Linked DNA regions of Homo sapiens: all the other regions are linked to region 1. The links are contacts of gene promoters, found by promoter capture Hi-C in blood cells and fetal thymus (Javierre and others, 2016). All regions are on one chromosome and are shown on one strand. The core of a region is centred on a gene start or on the middle of the fragment in contact, and the rest is flanking DNA. Distances in the headings are between cores, read along the strand shown.

The links. The method cuts DNA at HindIII sites, captures the fragments that hold promoters and counts their contacts. A CHiCAGO score of 5 or more calls a contact.
Region 2: a contact is called between a fragment that was not itself captured here and the fragment with the promoter of CSGALNACT1 in region 1, in 2 of 17 cell types (neutrophils and naive CD8 T cells). The highest score is 16.1, in neutrophils.
Region 3: a contact is called between a fragment that was not itself captured here and the fragment with the promoter of CSGALNACT1 in region 1, in 7 of 17 cell types (neutrophils, non-activated CD4 T cells, naive CD8 T cells and 4 more). The highest score is 12.7, in neutrophils.

What each region holds. Positions count from the first base shown.
Region 1 is chr8:19,755,827-19,758,526 of GRCh38, reverse strand. It overlaps CSGALNACT1 (chondroitin sulfate N-acetylgalactosaminyltransferase 1), which reads left to right and starts at 1,250. Exons shown (of 9, transcript NM_001354483.2): 1 at 1,250-1,341. The HindIII fragment of the contact is 8,664 bases long and covers 1-2,700 here.
Region 2 is chr8:19,544,026-19,548,635 of GRCh38, reverse strand. All of the region lies in intron 2 of CSGALNACT1 (chondroitin sulfate N-acetylgalactosaminyltransferase 1), which reads left to right. Among named protein-coding and RNA genes, the nearest start is that of CSGALNACT1-AS1, 130 kb to the left of the region's middle. The HindIII fragment of the contact is 9,869 bases long and covers 1-4,610 here.
Region 3 is chr8:19,527,107-19,531,581 of GRCh38, reverse strand. All of the region lies in intron 2 of CSGALNACT1 (chondroitin sulfate N-acetylgalactosaminyltransferase 1), which reads left to right. Among named protein-coding and RNA genes, the nearest start is that of CSGALNACT1-AS1, 150 kb to the left of the region's middle. The HindIII fragment of the contact is 2,077 bases long and covers 333-2,409 here.

The DNA of each region.
Region 1 (2,700 bases), core at 1-2,500:
ACGAGGGTGAAGAGTTCACTCAGGGTGTGGGGTGGGGATAGGTCCACCTGGGGAGTCCAGGTGGGAAGCAAAACTTGCTTCAGGGATGCTTCCTGCAGGTAAGCAGGAGCTTAATGGAAACCGAGCTGCTTCAAGACTGTGCCTATAGCCTCAGGACTGCCTACCCTGTGCCCACAATAAAGTCTGGTGCGCCGGAATCTCCCAGATGGAGACTCTGAGCCAGGCAGTAGAAGGAGCCATGGCCAGGTAGTAGAAAGAGCACTGCCTCAGGAGTCATAGGACTGGTTTCCAGCTCCGGTTCTGCGGTGGCTCAGCCCTGGGGCCTCTGCAAGTTGCTTAACCGCATCTGCAGGTGATGACCTCTTCCAGTCTAACTGACTCCTCCTGAGTCCCCCTCAATTACACTGAAAATTGGCGATCCTATTTCCCAACTCCCTCTCCCACAGAGATGCGCTGGAGCACTTACAGATAAAAGGCGACCTGTGGCCCTGGAGGGTGCCTGCCTGTGTGTGCTGGAGGTGGCGGTGGATCTTTTATTACCCAACACTCCACTTGCCTTTTTAGCCTTTCCTCTCCCTCTTCTCTCCTGGCCTCCCAGTGGCCGTCAGGGGTCCCTGCAGACATCGCTTACCCACAGTGGTGCGGTGTGAGAGTTACAGGGGTTCCTGACCTTCGCTGTAAGTAAAAGCTCTCTAGGGGAGGCGTTATAGCTGACCAGGGCAGCAGAGACCGCGACTAAAGCGTGAATTCCCCGAAGTGCGATTTACAAAGTTTTTGCATGGAAGTCGGCGCTCGGCGGGGAGGGCAGCCAAGGGAACAGAGCGGGTGGAGCAGGGGGATGGGGAACTCTGTCCTGCAAGAGTAAGGACCCCATGGAGATTGGACACCTCTCTCCTGCAACTCGGGCCACGCCACAGTGTCCTAGTCTCTAAACTTCTCCGGCTCTTGGTGTCCAGTCACGCGTAAACCGCCCCTGGTGTCCGAGCGCGGCCCCTTCCGAGAGTGACAGGCTTCGGCCAGGGCGCCGCTCCGACGGGCGCAGGGACGCACTGCAGAGAGGCCGTGGGTGACGCGGAGGTACGCGGCCAACCGCGACCCCAGCCCGGCCTTGGCCGCCCCCGCCGGACCTACCCTGCGGCGGGGCGCCAGGCTTGGCCGCTGTTGCGCCCGCCCGCCCGAGCCGCCGCCGCCGCCGCTGCTCCCCGCCCCCGGGGTCCCTGGAGGCTCCGCGGCTGCCGGAGCGGGAGGTGGAGCCGAGTCCGCGGCGGCCGCGCAGGAGGGAAAGTTCAGCGACGGCGGCAGCGGCCGGAGCCGGGCCGGGCAGCTAGCAGGGCGCTTCGGGTGAGTCGGGTCCCCTCCCGGGCCAGCCGGGCGCGGTGTGCCGCGCGGGGGCGTCAGTGGCGCCGGCAGATCCCCACAGCCCCGCGCGCCTAGCTCGCGCCCGCCCACCCCGCGACCTCGGGGTGGCTCGTGCAGCTGCGGAGGACGGTGCCGCGCCTGGCCTCCCTCCGCCGCTGCCCGCCGGGGGCCCAGGGCACGGGCAGGGGCCGGGGACCGGCTTGGCAGGCGGAGGGCGCGGCGCCTCCAGGTGGGCGCGCGGGGACGCGGAGGGAGCTTCCAGGGAGGGTCCGGGGCCGCTGCGCTCCCGGGGTCGGTTTGGCTTCACCAGCGTTTCTCGTGGCCTTCCGCTGTCTGATTGCTTTCTGCAAAACCCACTGAAAAGTAGCCTTTCCACGTGCCGCGCGATGACTGCGGTTATTGTATTATTGTGGCTGGGATGGAGAGGGTGGAGGGGGCGTGACGAGGGTGGCCGGTGGGCAGCGCGCTCGCCTGCCCGGGACCGGGCTAGTGGGGGATGTGGCTGAGGGTCACCGCTGCCCGAACATGCCCAGGGGACGTGCGATCGGTGGGCAGAAGCTGTTCGAGGGCATGATCTTGGGGTGGGATGGGGGCTAGAAGGGCGGGGAGGAGAGGAAAGCTGTAGGAAGCGGAGGCAAAGTTGTTTGTTTCCGTCGCACTTCCTGCACCTGCATTCCTGTCAGAGATTTTGAAGTTATCTTTTCATCGATGAGCAAAGAATGGTGAGAAAGGAAGAGATGTTAACAGCACTGTGCCTGCCAAAACAGTGAGCCTCGGGAAATACTCATAAGTGAAATACTAATAAAAAGCATGGAGTGGTTAAATTTCACAAACTCCACTTTTCTTCTGGTTTCAAAGCCTTGGTGCAGTTTTTACTTAACGTCATTAGATACGTCTAGATAATAAAGGTAATGAAGTGTTCTTTCACGGTTTTTTTTTTTAAACTGGAAATTTAAATTTAATTCTGTAGGATTTCGTCGACATTGTTCCTACAAGAAAGTCAAATTACCTTGGTGTTACTTGCAACAGTGAGCATTAATAAGCCCTGTGCAGTGCTGAAATGTTGCTAATTGGAGGGAGAAAGGTCCTTCAAACTTGGAAATAGACGCAGAAAGGCAAGATGAATTTTTATGTAAGCCTTAGGCATAAAAGGCGACTTGAACACGTTTTGTAATAGTGCATAATACACAGGGGACTAGGTGTTGGGCTGCCGGAAGATGGTCAATTCCTAGAAAGCAAGAGACGGGCCATACCCATTGTAAGATCACCGTACATATTTAATAATTCGTCTGCCTTGAGCTGCCACACCATATGTACTCCACATAATACAATATCAAAATA
Region 2 (4,610 bases), core at 697-3,196, 210 kb after region 1:
TAAATCCATGTATATAAAAGTATATTTACACATGTAAAATTTTAACATATTTCACAAAATGTTTTAAAAATAATATTTGAGAAAAACTAACAGCAGTGAGTTTTTGGAATATATTGAAAAGTAATCTATTGTTTAGTTTCATGTGAATAATGCATTTCACAAAATATTTTTTAAAAATAATACTTGAGAAAAACAGCAGTGAGTTTTTGGAATATATTGAAAAATAATCTATTTTTTAGTCTCATATGAATCATGAGTTTAGAGTCATGGTTGGTTTGATATTTGATATTGGAATTTGTCAGAGCTTTATTATTCACACTTACTGTCTAACTTAATTTTTAATATTAAGCAATTTTAGTGTCTAACTTTATTTTCAATATTAAGCATTAGAAAAAAGTGCCAGAATCATTAGAATTCAGATTTGCTATCCTTGAGGAAAATTCCAGTTGGACTGAAATGGGCAAGTTGCCTCTCCTCTCTTTAATAATTAGTGTTTGGCTGAAATATAATCCAAATTCAATATTTAGTTGAAACATTTAATACTTAATCCAATAATAGTCTACTTCCAGCTTTGGACATTTCCAGACTTTCAACCTCACAGAGTTAATGTGAGCGATGTTACATCACTCGTATGAATCACTTAATACAATGCCGGGAATATGGTGGGAACTTAGGAAAATGGCAGCTGCTCTCTCCTCTTTCCCATCAATAACTACCAACCCCCTGGCAACACACCCAAATCCCTCAGGGTCTGGCAGTGGCCATCTGGTCCTCATCACCTTTTATGTAAATGTTACTCTTTCTTTCACTTCTCAGTATTACTTGCTAGTAAGGAATTTATTGTACAAATCAGTGATCCATCTCCCTTTTTCCAAGTTTTTAACTATTATACTTGATATAAGTGAAAGTTTCTAGAGTATACTTTATTGTATTCTACGGTATTAGTCTGTTCTCACACTACTAATAAAGATATACCCGAGACTGGGTAATTTGTAAAGAAAGAGATTTAGTGGACTCACAGTTCCACATGGCTGGGAGGCCTCACAATCATGGTGAAAAGCTAAAGGCACGTCTTACATGGTGACAGGCAAGTGCAAAGAAACGAGAGCCAAGCGAAGGGGGAAACCCCTTACAAAACCACTAGATCTCGTGAGACTTATTCATTACCATGAGAACAGTATGGGGAAACCACCCCCATGATTCAGTTATCTCCCACTGGGTCTCTCCCACAAAACATGGGAATTAAGGGACCTACAATTCAAGATGAGAATTGAGTGAGGACACAGCCAAGCCATGTCATTCACAAAACACTGAAATGCATTCTGATTCCAGTTAGTTATCAGACTTGGACCATAGATGACCAGTTAGAGCTTTTACTTGTCACTTACTTGGCTGTGTGTTATATTACACCTCAAAAATACCAGCAAAGGAGGAGCAGACTTTTAACAAAACACTGCTGGCATTTTTGCTTTGTCCTGTGGCATCATGGAGCCCTTCGTGTCCTGGCCTTTTTTTCTTGCTGGAAAGACTGAGGATATCACTTTATATTTGTTATATTCTTGGGTATAGAAAACCCAGGAGAGTCTACTGTGAGACACTGGTAAGTTCTCAGACGGTGTTTCTGGAAAATCACTGTCAGGTATTTCTAGAGAAGACGCATCTGATGGATGATTCAGCTACTCTCAGCTCCCTCTGCGAAGAGCATCTTGACAGTGAAGAGATATTGTGAAGCCATAGGATCATTCTGCACCCTGAACCTTATGTGACACTGATCCGGGGACCTCAGTTGTGGTGGCAGGATCTGAGCTTGGTCTAGATTCAAACTCTGTAAAGAGGAGCCTTCCTAGTCACCTGTGTTTGCTTTTTAGGTTTCATCTGAGTTTGGAGGGGTTTCATATAGGTTTTTGTTTATTACATTTCTGTGCTAGTAGCAACAAGAATATTTATTGTACATTTCAGATATTCCCAAGAATGGGTAGGGGGAAGAAACAATATTCATGAGAATACTGACTTGGGAGAGTGGATGTGGCTGTGCAGCATCAGATGGTATTCCAAGTATTTATTTTCTAAATAATTTGATGCCACATTTGTTTAAGAAACTTGTAGTTAGCTTTGTGTTCCATCCTTAATTCTTAGTGATACTTCCCTATTTCATTGAAGAGTAGTGAGGCATAGTTATTTCAATGTTCTATTGAGGTCCATGACCACAAAGTCCTTAATATTCCAGAGAGGTTAATTACCACTTGATGATTATAGTAGGAATAAGATTGACAGATGGGTATTGTGTTGCCATTTTGGAGAAGGGAAAATAAAAGCCGTAATATTGAAGCACAGCCCTCTAGGCATATATGAAAGCCATGTTCAACTTACTTACAAAAACACGATTAATCATGTTTTATGTATTTATATACTTGACAGATAAATATCAGTGAATATGGAAATTGGGCAAAGCATACTAAAAATATATTCTGCTGAATTTATCTGCATATATCTATTTGTGCTATTGAATTGACTGTGTAAAATATATTGAGTCTTGTTTCCTTATAAAACTTCCTTCTTGTTTTAAGTGAAAAGGACTATTAAAATTTGATCTAATGGTATGACAACTGTATGACCTAAATTTTCTTGGGCTATCTGTGGAGGAATCACACACTATAACTATACATGCAGTTTGCAAATTGTGAGCTTTATTTTATTTTTTGTGCATTGTTTTGCTGTTTTAGAAAAATAAACTTATATATGTATACACATATAGCATATAACTTATATATAATATATAGTATATAACTATTATATATACATAATATATGTATACATATATTAATATATATAGATATATAATGTGTGTGTTTACAAATATATATATATATCCTTTTCTCAGCAGGTCTCATTAACGTCATCTAACTTTAGTTGCCTGGAGACTTGGGAGGAAAAGTTATAGTTTCGCATTAACCATTTCCTTACGTTTTTTCTCCCTTATTGTTTTACTACTTTATCTTTTTAGCATACTCATTCATTGACCCAGAGACATTTATTGAATGCATATTATGTTTGAAACACCATACTAGGCATTGAGGAGGAATAAAAATGTAAGACAGAGTCTTTGCTATCAGGACACTTGCCATCTGCTTTTTCATCTGACAGAAATCAATGATCATGTTTTATGCTTTTTCTACATCAGTTATTATCAAAGACAAAAGTTATAGGCATGAGGTGGCTTTGCCAAGATAAGTCTGCAGGAAAATTTTCCCCATCTCATTTTTCGTGAAAGGGTTATCTATGAATTTAAATGTTCAATTAAACGTTAATTGTTTTATAGAAAAATAATGATTTTTCTGGGATTTCATTCATCTCATTTCTGCTCAACCACAAGGACATCCTCATTTCACTACAGTAGGAGATACCAAGTATGGCAGCCACCTAACTGCTATGAACAGGCCTCCCTGGTGACAGGCAAGACTGGGTCAAGTCCAGAGATAGGATTTTAACAGTTTTATTGGAGGAAAATATATTTTCTAGCTTCCAGGGTGACATGGAGTGACTTCACTGTGCTTCAGAACAACTCCCAGGAGTCGCTGTGTCGTCGTGATTTATCCTGGTCTTTGGAGCTAAGTTATTGGAAAAAAAAAAAATGTCTGAAAGGATGGACTGACTGGCTTCTCCCCTGGTTCCCATTTTTTCTTTGAAAACTTCTCCTTTTTGAAAGGAAAGGAACTTCTGGTGTCCTGTGTGTAAACGATAGCCTCTTCCTTTGTTGTCTTCTTGGGGAACTTTTTTTATATCTCAGATACACAGCTTTTACTTGGAGAATGATGATGTCTGTATTTTTCCAGCAAGATAAATGAAAATTGGACCAATTATGCAGTTAAAACTGTACAAAAGAATCATTTAAACTTACAGCTACTAGAGGTTTATTAATTCACCCCTGGAATTTAGCATAGCTAAGCTCAGCATAGGTATGGGGCCCTGTTCCACATTACTTTAAGAATTATAACAAAATATTTGGATAAGGCAGTTTCAAATCCTCTCCAGAATTCTGAACACCAGAGAGGTTAAAAAGCAAAAGGGTCATTCAATCAGGTGGATATCTGTTCGGAGTTATCTTTGGTTTCATTTAATGGACTTTTCAAGTAGTTAAAGAAAACACACGAAATTGTTAGCTTTTTCCTTCAGCATTGGAGAAAAAAATAAAAATGTCATACTCTTAAACATCTAAGTTTCATGTTTAGTATGTTCAGTATTTCAATAATAAAAGTTATTCATTGATTTGTTCCCAATGTCTTTTAAACTACATAGATATTTTTAAATAGTAGAGATTAGTTCTATTAAATTATATTTCCTTAAGATTGGATTAGAGAAAGAAAACTGTGGTCTCAGTGGTGGTGGCACATATTCCAGCTGTCTGCTCAGTTTTATTTTGTTGCCTCTGGCAAGGAACAGATTTGTTATTCAGGCTCTGTCTAAATCTATAGTTTGACAGCCATGTCCTTGTGGTCACCAAACTATTCTTTTCCCATAAACTAAACAGCAGCAAAACAACTTGTTTAAAAAAAAAAAAAAGTTATGTCCCCACAATAGAAAACCCATTACATTAGCAGCATCAGGCTATG
Region 3 (4,475 bases), core at 122-2,621, 230 kb after region 1:
ACTTTAGTGATTTGCCAAGGTTACTTAGTTGGTAAGCGGTGGTGTTAGAAACAGGACTTGGAGATGCCATTGCATTGTAAATTTTGATAGTATTTTGTAAATAAGGGAACTTAAATAAATGAAGTGATCCACTCAAAGCTGTGGCTCCAGCTAGGACTGAGCTGGGTGTTCTGCCTCCTGCCCTGCAATTTCTTTAGCAGTCCAGAATATGTCTCATGGGAATGGCAATATTAACGTCCATCCCATTTGACTTACATTGACTTTTTAAATTATGTGGAGCTATGAGTGAAAATTCTGGCAGACTGATTATGTTACATTCTTTTTAAGAAGCTTGTGCTTTTGGGGTTTCAATGTTTCCAACTCTAAAATAAAGATGATAGATATCTGCCTCCCTTGGTGGAATGTCATGAGGATTTAGAAAATAGCTCTATCTCTGAAGAGTTTCAAGCTCCCTGGAATTAGTCTAAGGTTTTAATTTTTCTTTTAATCATCAAGATGTTTTCATGTAATAGGAAATGGAAGCCTTAGCAAGAAACCACGGGTTCAGATTCTTAGGTATTCACACTTGAAGTGTCAGGCTTGAAGATCAGCTGATACTGATTGACTGATGACAGTTTCTGTGGGGAGTGGCAGAGAACCCCCTGTAGGTTCAAGGCAGTGGGGCTAGAGGCAGTAACTCCACACACTCCAGATTGCAGGGAAATATTTGTGTTGAACAAAACTTCTGTTGCTCATTTCGTGTGACTCTTTTTTCCTCACCAGTCCCTTTCTCATTAGAAAGTCTGTGACTTCAGGTAAATAGTCTTACTAACTTCATGGACAATCAACTTTTTCCTTTTCTATTCCTTTATGAGATAAGGTCTTGCTCTGTTGTCCAGGCTGAAGGGCAGTGGCACAATCATAGCTCGCTATAGCCCCGATCTCTTGGGTTCAAGCGATCCTCCAGCCTCAGCCACTTGAATAACTGGGACTCGAGCTGCGAGCCACTGTGCCCGGTGAACAATTTACTTTTTTCTGCTGTGCTATCGGTTTTACATTTTTTTAGAAGTAAGAGTTTAGCGACTGAATTCTAGTAAAGTTTACATGTCATGATTATAATGCATAAATGTAGAGACTAAGTCATAAATGCAAAATCTGTTACTCATCTATGTTAATGAAGCAAAGAGTTATAGATATTATAAAATTATATATACACTTACATATATACACATACACACTCATGTACAGTCAGTACTTGTGTGCGTGTGTGTGTGTGTGTGTGTGTGTGTGTATGTGTACACATTCATGGATATTGAATGGATTCAACCAACCATGGATTGAATTTTTTTTGTTTTGTTTTGTTTTGTTTTGTTTTGTTTTTTCAGCCAGAGTCTCGCTCTGTTGCCCAGGCTGGAGTGCAGTGGCGTGATCTTGGCTCACTGCAACCTCTGCCTCCTGGGTTCATGCAATTTTCATGCCTCAGCCCCCGAGTAGCTGGGATTACAGGCACGCACCACTATGCCTGGCTAATTATTTTGTATTTTTAGTAGAGACAGAGTTTCATCATGTTGACCAGGCTGGACTCCAACTCCTGAGCTCAGGCAAGAGCTCACCTCAGCCTTCCTAAGTGCTAGGATTACAGGCGTGAGCCACTGTGTTGGGCTGAGACTATTTTAAAAAATAAAATATGAGAAATAATTGTAAAAATTATACAAATAATAGTACAATAGCTATTTACATAGCATCACATTGTGTTAGGTTATTATAAATAATGTAGAGATGATTTAAAGTATACAGGAGGATGTGCTTAGGTTATACACAAGTACTGCACCATTTTGCATAAGGGAGCTGTGCATACATGGATTTTAGTATCCATGGAGGAGTCCTGGAATCTGTCCCTCATGGATACCAAGCGACAACTCTGTGTGTGTGGGTGTATGTGTGTGTGTATTTGAAGTTTTAATGAATAGACACATTTTCCCTTACCACTTTTTCATTCACTGCTATTTTGATATTGATACGTATTTGATAACTATTCCTGATATTTATTAGTAATGGGGAAAGGGTTGCAGTAATGATGAATGAAATGTTATTAAGAGCCCAAACGTCAAAGTCAAGTGAAACAGGAGATAAGAGCTTCTTCTTGATTTAGCTCCTACTTGTTTGCCACCAGCCTTGAGTAGGATTCCAGGAGCCAGGAGGAAGAGCTGATGCCCAGTAGTGGTCAAGGCCCACAGGTCTGGTCAGTTGCACAAATGCCCTGGTCTTCTCCCTGATACACACCCTTCCAACTACTGCTCACTCACTCTCACTCTTCTGCTATGCAGTTAAACTTCTGGAAAAATTTCTGCATATTCATTGTCTCCATTTCCTTCCCACTCTGTCTTTAATTCACTCTTCTTTCGCACTCAACAACTCACCAAAAAAGCTTTTAAGTTACCGTTGACCCCCACGTTGCTCAACTCACCGAGCTTTGTTGCAGTTCTCAGCTTACTTGATTTCTCGGCAGCATCTGACGTTGCTGTCCACTGAATCCTTCTTTTTAAAGGTATATTCAAATTTTGAGACTTCAAAATTTTGTGAATGACAGCCCCATCTACTCGCCATTTGGTTTAATAAATAAAATCTTAACATTAACAACCATTACTCATAGACCTTCTGAAGGCTGTGTGCCCTTCCCCAGTCACATCCCACTTCTTCCATCTCAAGAGAGAACTACCATCCTAGCCTTAGCGTTTGGGGTATCTAGGGGTTTGATATCTTTATTTTCTACATCTGAGTTCTGTCAGTTCCCTCCAGCCAAAGACTGTTAGGCACACTCTGTAGTTGGACACGCTGGGTTTATTATTTGTTGCTGCAAAGGAGAATGCATACCATGGGAAGTCGTGAGGTATCCTAGTAAGAGGGTGTTGAGGGAGAACCCATCATACAGATTTGGGTCTTGGTTGGATGATTTGGGGGTGGGTTTAAGGAAGGAGAGATTTGCTCTAGATTGGATCTCCTCAGAAAGAGTAATTCTCACATAAGGTATCTCAGTAAATCTTACTATGGGGGTCTAGAATGAGGATAAAGTTGTAATTAGTAAAGAGGCAGTCACTTTGGCCAAGAAAAGGGGGTGTTTGGTATTTTGCGGGTGACATGTTGACCTTGTTTTTGTCTGTGTTTAGACAAAATTATGGAGTGGCCTTGTTTTGTCTCTCTTTATCACTTGTGTGAGGCTGGTTTTCTTTGAGATGGTTTATGTCTAATAGCGGAATAACATGACCTTGCCGTGACTGTCAGGCAAGCTTCTGAATATCAAGGGCTGCTTGCTTTTTTTTTTTCTTTTTCTTTCTCAGTCCTGAACGAGTCGGAAAATGGTGTTCGGGCAGATGGAGACACAAATATTGGCTAATTTGGAGAACATGACCGGGATACGTGGCAAAAATGGGCTACAGAATTAGCCAGGCTACCTCAGTCAGTTCTGGATAGCCCTGTGTCAAACCTACTCAGGCAGAGCCTCAGCCCCCAAGTTCATAACAATGTGGGTCATCTCCAGAAGTTCCTTCTCCAGCTGCTTTGCAGGCTTATTTCCTCTTCCTGGCTGTTTGATGTTGGAGTTCCTATAGACTCAGCACCACCTTTTCTTCCCACTCGATTTTCTCCCTGAGTTTATCTCCTTCAGTCTTACGGTTTGATTCCTATCAATATGCCAGTGGCCCTGAATCTACCTCTCTGGCGTACAGCTCTTCTTTTCTCTGACTTGCTTAGTCACCATCTCCGCCTGGATGCTTCAGAGGCACTTGAGCTTAACTTGTCTAAGCCCACACTCATAATCTCCTCCCCAAATTTGATATTTTTGGTTTTCTACAGCCTGACCCTGCTACTTCAGCTCAGCACCCCACACTCCAGCTATGCTGACCTGCCTGCGTGGTTCTCATGCGTAATGTCGCTTCCAAGCCTATGCCACTCAGTTACTTCTACCAGAAAGCCTCTTTTATCCTTTATTTTTTTGACATGGAGTCTCACTTTGTCACCCAGGCTAGAGTGCAGTGGCACGATCTCAGCTCACTTTAACCTCTGCCTCGCAGGTTCAAGCGATTTTCCGTCCTCAGCCTCTGGAGTAGCTGGGACTGTAGCCACCCACCACCATGCCTGGCTAATTTTTCTATTTTTAGGAGTTGGAGGGGCGGGGTTGGTTCACCATATTGGCCTGGCTGGTCTTGAACTCCTGGGCTCAAGTGATCCACCCTCCTCAGCCTCCCAAAGTGCTGAGATTACAGGTGTGAGCCACTGTTCCTGGCCCTCTTTTATCCTCTCTTCCTGGCTAACCTTCTCCTCCAAGACCTAGCTGAGGTGTCATCTCCTGCAGAAAGCTGTTTCTGAATGCGTGAGGTTAGGTTGAATATTCCTCATCTATGTCCCCTTTGTTCCTTTTGTTCCTCTGTCCTAGCAGTTAGTTGATTGATTTATCCTTTCATGGATCTGTTACTGCCAGTGTACTTCAAACTCCTTAA